3 separate regions of the Homo sapiens genome follow, and all the other regions are linked to region 3. The links are contacts of gene promoters, found by promoter capture Hi-C in blood cells and fetal thymus (Javierre and others, 2016). All regions are on one chromosome and are shown on one strand. The core of a region is centred on a gene start or on the middle of the fragment in contact, and the rest is flanking DNA. Distances in the headings are between cores, read along the strand shown.

The links. Contacts are between HindIII fragments. The CHiCAGO score rates a contact against its expected background, and 5 or more counts as called.
Region 1: a fragment that was not itself captured here is called in contact with the fragment with the promoter of KRTAP4-12 in region 3 in 6 of 17 cell types (total CD4 T cells, naive CD8 T cells, naive CD4 T cells and 3 more); the score reaches 6.3 in total CD4 T cells.
Region 2: a contact is called between a fragment that was not itself captured here and the fragment with the promoter of KRTAP4-12 in region 3, in 1 of 17 cell types (neutrophils). The highest score is 5.1, in neutrophils.

Annotation. Positions count from the first base shown.
Region 1 is chr17:41,412,307-41,415,976 of GRCh38, forward strand. LOC100505782 (a long non-coding RNA gene) reads left to right here. Exons shown (of 3, transcript NR_040111.1): 3 at 113-282. Among named protein-coding and RNA genes, the nearest start is that of KRT37, 10 kb to the right of the region's middle. The HindIII fragment of the contact is 7,068 bases long and covers 1-3,670 here.
Region 2 is chr17:40,858,256-40,861,506 of GRCh38, forward strand. All of the region lies in intron 1 of LOC105371777 (a long non-coding RNA gene), which reads left to right. KRT12 (keratin 12) reads right to left here. Exons shown (of 8, transcript NM_000223.4): 8 at 3,048-3,251. Among named protein-coding and RNA genes, the nearest start is that of KRT12, 7.3 kb to the right of the region's middle. The HindIII fragment of the contact is 5,577 bases long and covers 1-3,251 here.
Region 3 is chr17:41,122,237-41,125,605 of GRCh38, forward strand. KRTAP4-12 (keratin associated protein 4-12) reads right to left here and starts at 1,946. Exons shown (of 1, transcript NM_031854.3): 1 at 855-1,946. The coding sequence starts at 1,886. The coding sequence ends at 1,281. RefSeq lists an enhancer at 1,073-1,626. The HindIII fragment of the contact is 5,176 bases long and covers 1-2,810 here.

The sequences.
Region 1 (3,670 bases), core at 715-3,214, 290 kb after region 3:
TCTATGCTGTCTTGTAAGAAGGAGATTTTAGATTTTAATAAGAAAGATAAAAAAGTAAATGATCTTGATATTATGAAGACAGTAAAAGGAAGTATTTTTTTTTTTTTAAAAGACAGCTGCAAAGATTTCGAGGTGGAAGAGAGCTCACTGAGAGACCGGAAAAAGACTTCATGGAGTAGGGGATTTTCCAAATATGTTTTGAATGATATTTTTTATAAAGGGTTGGGGAATGAGCTTCTCTCATAGAGAACAAAATAAACACAATCAAACATTTGGAAAATGGAAAATAGTCTAGTTGTGTTGGTATTTATAATGGAGACATTATCCCCAAGCCCCGGAAAGTTGCATTGAGTCCAGGTTGTGAAAAGTCTTAAATACCAGGACCATGGTCTTGAGGCAAAGGTGAGTGAAAGGTAGGGATCTGCCCTGGAAGACGACTTTCAAGTATAAGGAAAAATAAATAGCCAGCTTCCTTTTGAAGGAAAGTAGCAGAAAAAAGGTGGAAAGTTCCTTTACACAAATTATTAGAAAACTGAAAATGAAACCTAAGTTCAAAATTAATCTTGGTGTTTGAAAACTAACACAGTTTTTAATACTCCTTGGGTTAAATAAGAAATCTAATTTAAAAATTTTTAAGTATTTTGAACTGAATTAAAATCAATACACAACCTATAAAACAGATGTTGGCAATTAAGACTTTCCCTGTGCATACGTGAAACAGATAAGCGTTTTGGGAGTGAGAAAAAAACGGCTCATAATAAAACTGATGGTTTGCAATTTTCAGAAAATAAAATTATGCTTCTGTGTACTGGAGTCTACAGGCTAATTAAGGCAGGCAGTGATTAACACTTTATGGTGTCTGTTCTCAGGGCCTCACCCACCTTCCCAGGCATCTTTCCTTTCTATTGACCCTTTCACCAGACTGAGTCCCTCATCACCCTTGTTTACAGAAGATACGTACTCAAGAACTTTGATCTTTCATCTTTTGAAATATTTTTGCATTTCTTTGAAATGCATCTACCTTGATTATCCATTGCTTGGGAGACTCTAGAACAAAATTTAAATTTCCTTAATCTTCAGACACACTCAGAGCATCAGAACCTTTATGGCCTCCCCTATTTCTAAAACAAATAAGCCAGTGGCCATTTGTTCAATACACCCTGGAAAAGGGCAGCTAGCCAGCTTCCAGTCTATGCTAACAAAGATGCTAATTTGACCGCATTCCTAAGATGAATGAATTCACCACGAGGGCCCTTGAAGCAGCAAGTGTGTTTCAGCTGGCACTACAACATAGCATCTCCAGGACGAAAGGGACTTCAGGGTCCTCTAGTCTAGTACCCATTTGCATTAAATCCCTTCGATGACCTTCCTCCAACTAGTCATCTAGTCCACCATTTTCCAGGAGAGCTTACACCATCAGTTCCTGTGGCTTACAAACAGCTTCCCAGGCTTTGTGCAAGACACTGGTATCCAGAAAATTAACAGCAGCTAGCTCAGCCTTAAGGCACTCACATTATAGAGAATTTTTAGAAAGTCTTCACAAATCTACCTTCGTGTTACCTCTCCCTATAGCTTTTGTTGGGTCATTCATTCATTCATTCAACAAATAGCTATGAAGTACCTACTCTGTGCCAACCAGGGGCTGAGCTGGAGGCTAGTAATACATTGGCAAGTAAGTCAGAGAGTTGGCCCTTTAGTTCATTTACTCTCCAGTTCTCCCCCATGGTGTCCCATACAGGATAAATCTAATCATTCTGCCATATTCTCAGCTCTTTGTGGCAGATGTGAGATTTCTTACTCCTGGTTCTGCATTCAGCATGGTTCAAAGTCCCCTTGCCATCCCAGGAATGTTTCCCTGGACATGCTCCATGATGTAACAGTTACTATCACTCTTAAGTGCGGGCTGTACAGTGGGATTTCTGATTAGTTTAGATTGAAAGGCTGCCAGTAGATGGCCAGAAAACCTTCTTGCCCAGGACTTTTGTGTAAACCATGCTGGAGCCACTGGCTATTCAGCCATGACAACCAGCCAGCCACCAGTTGGTCCCATATACAGTCAATGAGACGCATGGGGACCCTTCTCTGTAACTCTATACAGATGTGGGTGATATTCTCCAAGGCATGATTTGCCTTATCCTGGTGACTTACTCTGAATGTCTGATATTCCTGAACTCCTGTTATACCAAAGCCCTTCTCAAGGGGATGGGGGATGCAGAGATGAAAAGGAGAAATTTCCACCCTCAAAAAGCTGAGAGCAGAAAAAGAGGTCACGTAACTCAGTGGAGGGAGAAGTGACTGGAGCTTAGAGATATAGAGGGGCCATCAAAGACACTTTGTCTGGAACTTAAGATTGGGAAGACTTGGATGGGCAGGAAAGATGGGAGACAGTTTTCCAGAAAAAGAGGATGAACAGGCCAGGCGCAGTGGCTCGCGCCTGTAATCCTAGCACTTTGGGAAGCCGAGGCAAGCGGATCACGAGATCAAGGATCGAGACCATCCTGGCCAACATGGTGAAACCCCATCTCTACTAAAAATACAAAAATTTGCTGGGTGTGGTGGCACACGCCTGTAGTCCCAGATACTCGGGAGGTTGAGGCAGGAGAATTGCTTGAACCTGGGAGGTGGAGGTTGCAGTGAGCCGAGATCGAGCCACTGTGCTCCAGCCTGGGTGACAAAAAAAAAAAGAGGATGAACACAAGAAAACACTCAGAAGCAGAAGTGGGCTCAAGAGAACTGGGTACAACTTCAGAAATGCAACAGCCAACAACAGGCCTGTCCCAAGTACTGGACCCCCAAAGAAATGAGTTTGAATGACACAAAATGTCAACCCAAAGAGCCAAATTGCATTTCTGAAGCCTGTAAGAGTGAAGTTTGTACTCCTCTATGCTAAAAATATTGTCTGCTTCTATTTTCATAACATCTCCACCAGTGGTCAAACTTTAACCAGCATCAGAATCACCCAGAGGGCTTGCAAAAAATGCAGGTTTTCAGGCCCCACACCACAGTTTCTGATTCAAGCGGTCTGGGGTCAGGCCAGGGAGTCTGCATTTCTAACAAGTTCCCACATGACACTGATGCTGCTGGTCTGGGGACCACCCTTGGAAGACGGAATCACTGCTCCATAGCAATAGACAAGTTTTGTGGTGACTTCATCCTAGGTGAATGAAGCACCAGGTCACAAAACAGGATTTGATGAATTCAAGAGGAGCCAGTGTTTGGATTACTGTACTTCAAATCAGTTAGCATGCAGTTTTCTCCAATGTAATAAGCAAGTTCTGTTTGTTTTCCTAGTTTGCTCTTCTTTGCTGAGGTTTGTTTTAGGAGGATATCTAGGATGAAGGAGAGAGGAGAGACAAAAAGGAAAATATGCACACTGTGTTGCTTATGCCTGTGGGGAAGAGGCCAGTCCACGCGAAAAACAATGTTCATAAAGGACAGATAAAGGTCACATGAAGTAATATCTATTGACATCTATTATGTGAAGGGAACCGAGCTTGGCACTTGGTATACAATATTTTACTTAATTCTCTCTCACACATTCACAAATCTATACACGCAAATTAGATAGACACCTACTATGTGCGGCCTACTGTGTTATTATTTGACCACCTACTATGTGCCACCAAGTATTATACCATATGCTTCCCATATAGTTGTGTCTTTTCATCCT
Region 2 (3,251 bases), core at 480-2,979, 260 kb before region 3:
TTTTTTCCCCCACGATATAACCCTGCCGGTAGCTGACTTCCCCAAGAGCATATAGTCCAGGAGACCAAGGAAGAACTGAAAGGCCTTTGTGATCTATCTTTGGAGGTCATATACTGTCACTTCTTCAATAAATCTGCTCCTCGTTCATTGTGAGAAGGAACTACACAAGGGAATGAAGACCAGGAGGCAGGGATCACTGGCACCAACCTGGAGGCTGCCACAAGTCACCAATATGTGGGTGCTATTTAAAACCATGGGATTGGCTGGGTGCGGTGGCTCACACCTGTAATCCCAGCACTTTGGGAGGCCGAGGCGGGCAGATCATGAGGTCAAGAGATGGAGACCATCCTGGCCAACATGGCAAAACCCTGTCTCTACCAAAATTACAAAAATTAGCTGGGCGTGGTGGTGTATGCCTATAGCCCCAGCTACTCAGGAGGCTGAGGCAGAAGAATCGCTTGAACCTGGGAGGTGGAGGTTGCAGTGAGCCAAGATTACACCATTGTACTCCAGCCTGGGCAACAGAGCGAGACTCCCTCTCAAACAAACAAACAAAACCCATGGGATAAGATCAGGGAGGAGAGGCTGGGGAGGGATCAGATGAGGTTACCTGGGGAGGGAGTATAGAGAAAAGACAAGAGGATTGAGCCAACATTCAGTCACAGAAGTCTGAGAAAAAGCTGCCTACAGAGTGATGGCTCTGGGAGCTTTGTGGTAAAAAATTTCCAAGAGAAGGGAATGCTGAGAAACTATGGTACTAGCTAATAAATGACCCTTGCATTTATACTTGTGCAAAATCCTTTCCCCTTTGAGTCTCACACCATTCTTATGTAGTTGTAAGGAAAACAGATGTTATTTAAAGCAGTAACTATTTGCAGACACTTTTGAGCACCAGGGAAGTAGAATCCTTTATTTATTACTTGGGGGCTGTGGACCTTGTTCAGAGGCCTTGATAAAATCCTTTTGAGTCTGAAAGGTAAAGGTTACCCTAGGATGTGTGCTGGAAGGTGAAGGCTAGACAAAGAGAGCTGAGCGTATAATAAAGTGAGATGAGTGGAGGATCTGAAACCATTAAAAATATTTTTTTCTTTTCTTTTTTTTGAGACAGGGTCTTACTCTGTTGCCCAGGCTGGAGTGCAGTGGCACGATAACAGCTCACTGCATTCTTGACCTTCCCAGGCTCAGGTAATCCTTCCACCTCAGCCTCCCAAGTAGCTGGGACTACAGGTGTGCACCCCCACACCCGACTAATTTTTTTTTATTTTTTAAATTTTTTTTGTAGAGACAGAGTTTTACCATGTTGTCCAGGCTGGTCTTGAATTCCTGGGCCCAAGCAATCTGCCCATATTGGCCTCCCAAAGTGCTGGGATTACAGACGTGAGCCACTGCATCTGGCCATATAAATGATATTAAAAGGAAAAGCTGCATACTGAAGCAAATCAGCTTAAGTTGGCTGACTAGCCATTGGCCTTTGGACTCAGCTCTGGAATTCCTCTTGTCTAACACAACTCCTCCCTCTCCCTTCTGCTTCTTTGACACTCCTTATTCACCATGTCTCCTTGTTTCTTCATCCCACTTTGGTTTCATACAGTAAATAATAATAAGACACAAATATTGAGTACTTTCTAGGTGCCAATAGTTTCCAGGTTCCTAGTGCTTTAGGTACACGACCTCATTTCATCTTCACAAAACCCGTGCCATGAAGCAGGTGCAGTCATTGCTATCATTTCCACTTTAAGAAACTGAGGAACACAGAGGTTAAATTACTTGTTATTAAGTAGCAGAGCCGGAAATTGAACCCAGTGTGATGTTAGAGGCCAGGCTCTTAATCATTGAATTTTGCCCATTTTCCTTTTAGGGTTTTGAATTTGGCAACCCATGTTGAACCACCATCTACTCAGGCTGAGACTTTGGCTGCCTTTTTCCCTAATGCAGAACATGATTTTTGTTACTGACTTGTGGGTCTGACCTGCCCCAGTGGGGACCCCACCCTGGGCCTCACTGCTGCCAGCTAGGAGAAAGGAGAGCAGAACCATGTTTGTTCACACCCTCTGTCTTTTCACATGTATTTGCCCTGTTGCCTTTCTCCCTCGTCTACCTGGATGATTTCTTTATGTAGCATTTCATTGCCCCTCCTGGAAAATTGTTCACTTCTTCCATGTGTCCTTCGAAGTTCTGTTTGTTTTCTTTTTTTTGCTTTTTTTTTTTTTGAGACAGAGTCTCACTCTATTGCCATGCTGGAGTGCAGTGGTGCAATCTTGGCTCACTGCAACCTTCGCCTCCCGGGTTCAAGTGATTCGCCTGCCTCAGCCTCCTGAGTAGCTGGGATTACAGCCACCTGCAACTGCACCCGGCTAATTTTTGTATTTTTAGTTAAGATGGGGTTTCACCATGTTGGCCAGGATGGTCTTGATCTCTTGAGCTCATGATCTGCCCGCCTCAGCCTCCCAAAGTGCTGGGATTACGGGCGTGAGCCATGGTGCCCAGCCCTTTGAACTTCTATTCAACAGATCTCACTGTATCAACATTCTTGGTAGGTGTTTATCTCTGCCCTCAACCATGAGCTCCTCAAGGCAAGGACCATATCATATTCATCACTGAGCCTCCAACCTGGCACACTGTAGGGGCTCAGCGTTTCTTGACTGCATGAATGATGGTGCTAGAAAATGAACAGGACAACTCTCAACTGCTGTAGTAGACAATATAATTTTGCTACAACCTTGATGAGCTTACATAAAAAGGCCAGAACTTCTAAAAGAATCTTCTTTTAGCTTAATCCTCAAACCCTGACATCTTCATCCCAGTTTTATCTACATTATCATTATTATCATTATTAATGTTGTGTAGAGATGGGGGTCTCTCTATGTTGTCCAGGCTGGTCTTGAACTCCGGGCCTCAAGCAATCATCTTGCCTCTCAGCCTCCCAAAGTGCTGGGATTATAGGTGTGAGTCATTACTCCCAGCCTCTATTTTATTAGTAGTATTTCAAAAACTTCTCTCTATGCTCTTGACATTCTTGTTGGAATCAAGGCATACATTTCACATTATTACCATTCATCTTTTATTACAATTAACTCTATTAAAACAATACTACTTGATTAAAGCTCTATGATTAAAAAATATTCCGGGTTACCAGAAGAAAGTTCGTTAAAAGACTACTCCAGGTCCAGAAGGATATAAGGTAATTTTGATTTGTTACAAAGACCAACATGACCAAAATGACTTGTGACTGAATATTGTTTCAGAAGGGC
Region 3 (3,369 bases), core at 696-3,195:
GTTTGTGTTGAGGATTCATTACACATGACTCAGTAGAAAATACATGGACTTTGCTAAACCACCTAATAGCTGCTTTTACTGGAAAAAAAAAGAAATTGAAATACAGTGTTTTAAAAGATCACAGCTCTGTGCACAATAGTAAAGACATGGAATCAGTCTAGGTGCCCATCAACAGTGCATTGGATAAAGAACATGTGACATTTTCACACCATGGAATACTACACAGCCATAAAAAAGAATGAAATTTTGTCCTTTGCAGCAACATGGATGTGGCTGGAGGACATTATCTTAAGCAAATTTTTCCAGGAACAGAAAACCAAATATTGCATGTTGTCACTTACAAATGGGAGCTAAACATTGGATACACATGGACACAAAGATGAGAACAATTGGGGACTCCAAAAAGGGGGGAGAGAGGGAGAGAGGAAGGGCTAAAAATGACCCACTGCTCAGTACCTGGTGACAGAATCATTTGTAGCCCAAACCTCAGCATCACACAACATGTAACAAATACGAATATGTACTCTTTGATTCTAAAATAAAAGTTGAAATTATTTTTTAAAAGATGATGAGTTGTGATCAATCTTTCAAAACGTTTCCCCTGTTGTTATATTCATGGATATTTCATGACTTCAGCTTCACTCTTTTTGTCTAAAGAATACAAAATGACTAATTGATTTGCCTAAGCCTGAAAAGACTTTTCTAGAAAAAAACTAGGCAGTGATCGATGTCAGTTGACCTCTGTTAGAAGGTTGACTAATCTGTGCTGTGAGCCCTACAGGTGTAGTTAAATGTAATCACCCAGGACCTAAATATAAAACCCTTTTTAAAAAGAGAATAAGAATCATATTCAATTTTCAGTGCCAATAGAATAGAGGTTTATTTTGGTACATGGAAATAACAAGGTACAAAAATGTTTGCAAAAGACTTTAAGAGAGAGACTTCACTGGACTTCAAGGTTGGAGGCTTTAAGATCTGTGGCCCTACAAATGATGGAGGCAATCTTCAAATTCCTTAGGCATGATGAATAAATGTCCTGAAGTCAAAGAGGTGGGAGGATGTTGGAGGACAATTTGTCAATTTATTAGGAGATTGTCAATGAATTCCTTTGGAAGGAAGGGAGTTTGGACAAAAGGTAGAATGCAAATACAGAATTTCTAAGGATGAGGTTTGCTTATGGGACCCAGATCAATTCTCTTGAACAGTCCGCATGTTTGCAATGAGAGCCTTCATCTGTAGGAAAGGACGTAATAAGGAAGTGGTGTGTTCACAGCAGAGATTTAGCAGCAAGAGGAGGCACAGCACAAGGGGCGGGGGCAGGTGGAGATGACACAGGTTGGGCGATAGCAAGTGGTGTGGCAGGAGACTCGGCCACAGACTGGACGCAGGCAGCAGCAGGGGCGGCAGCAGCTGGATTCACAGCAAGAGGGGCAGCAGCTGCTGGAGATGCAGCAGCTGGGGCGGCAGCAGGTGGGCTGGCAGCACACAGACTGGCAGCACTGGGGTCTGCAGCAGCTGGACACACAGCAGCTGGGGCGGCAGCAAGTGGTCCTGCAGCAGGTGGTCTGACAGCAGCTGGGGCGGCAGCAGGTGGGCTGGCAGCACACAGACTGGCAGCACTGGGGTCTGCAGCAGCTGGACACACAGCAGCTGGGGCGGCAGCAGGTGGTCCTACAGCAGGTGGTCTGACAGCAGCTGGGGCGGCAGCAGGTGGGCTGACAGCACACAGACTGGCAGCACTGGGGCCTGCAGCAGCTGGACACACAGCAGCTGGGGCGGCAGCAGGTGGTCCTGCAGCAGGTGGTCTGGCAGCAGCTGGGGCGGCAGCAGTTCTCCAGGCCACAGCCCTGGTCAGAGCACACAGAGCCACAACAGGAGTTGACCATGGTGTCAGAGGGTGGAGGTTCTCGGTGGGTTTCCAGGAGAGTGAGTGTTCTGAGTTTGATCTCTCCTTGTTCTCTCTTTTGCTTTTTATACCCTGCTGAGAACCACTATGACAATGTGAATAATCTTGTGGTTTGCACATTACTAATAGAGAATCAGTTGTTTTTTAGTAAATTAGATAGTTGTCCTTATCTGGTAAATATTTCTATAAATAGAAAAGGCAACATTTCCTTTTCCTGTTGTATTCTGAGCTATCCAATTTGGTTAAGCCAAGTGAATCAGCTCTCATTCTCCTTCCTTCATCTGATGTGTCTTCTGATGTGTAGACCCATTACATGACATTGTTTGATTGGATTTCATAAGTTAATTCTTTATTTATTTGACTCCTGGATAATAAGTTGAAAATAGATTTTATGATGACTAAATCTCCTCTGCTCTCAAAGAGGTTAAAAATAAATTACATAGAATGCTGGTAGGAAAATGTGATGAAAGATTCATCTTTGGGGGGTGATAGGAGGTAACTTGTGTATAATAAGGAACACTGTGATTCCTTTGAATTTTGTGGCTGGTCAGTGAGATATAAAAGATCCCACTGAAATTCCTGTTTCATGTTATTGACTCTATTTAGCTTGAAACAGATATAATGCAATGATTCATTGCTTTACAAGTAAAAATACATTGGCATGATAGGTCCCTTTATAAATTATTGTTGGCATGTTCTTCAGAGATGGGGATCATAAGGAACATTTTTGTTCTATTTTGTTGGTAAGTCAAGATACCCACTGAATGTGTTTAACTGAAGTGTTATTGAAAGTAGATTTTCTCATACTCGAAAGCTGCTTTTTCTCACAATGTATGTTGGAGATATTTTGCTTGATACATGGAGAAAAGAAACAAAGGATCAAGTTTAATTTCTGTCCTACAGAAGCTTAAACAAGACAAATAAGAAACATGTATAGGAAAGAATTTAGCAACTATTTAGAGAATGGTGTGATTAGTGAACAAAATAACAATTATGTATTTAATCTGTACACTTCCAATGAAAGATGAAACAATACTAATAGTTATAATTTTTTGAGTGCTTACTATGTGTCAGGAATTTTCTGAGTCCTCTATAATTGTTATCTTGTTTATACTTCACAAGGATTCTGCTATGTAGACACAATTTTTCTAAATTCTTTACATCCAAGGTACTTGAGGCCCAGATAGATTGAAGTCACACAGTCTGTAACAGGGAAAGGGCGTCTCTCCTAGAGTGTTCAAGGAACATTTTGCGCATGAACATTTTGCAATTAAATCCCTCCTGATATTTAAAAACAATTATTTATAATTAAAAAGATGCAAGGTATGTTCTCACTCCTAAGTGGGAGTTGAACAATGAGATCACATGGACACAGGGAGGGGAACATCACACACTGGAGCCTGTCGGGGGTGAGGGACAAGGGGAGGGAGAGCATTAGGACAAATACCTGATGCATGTCGGGC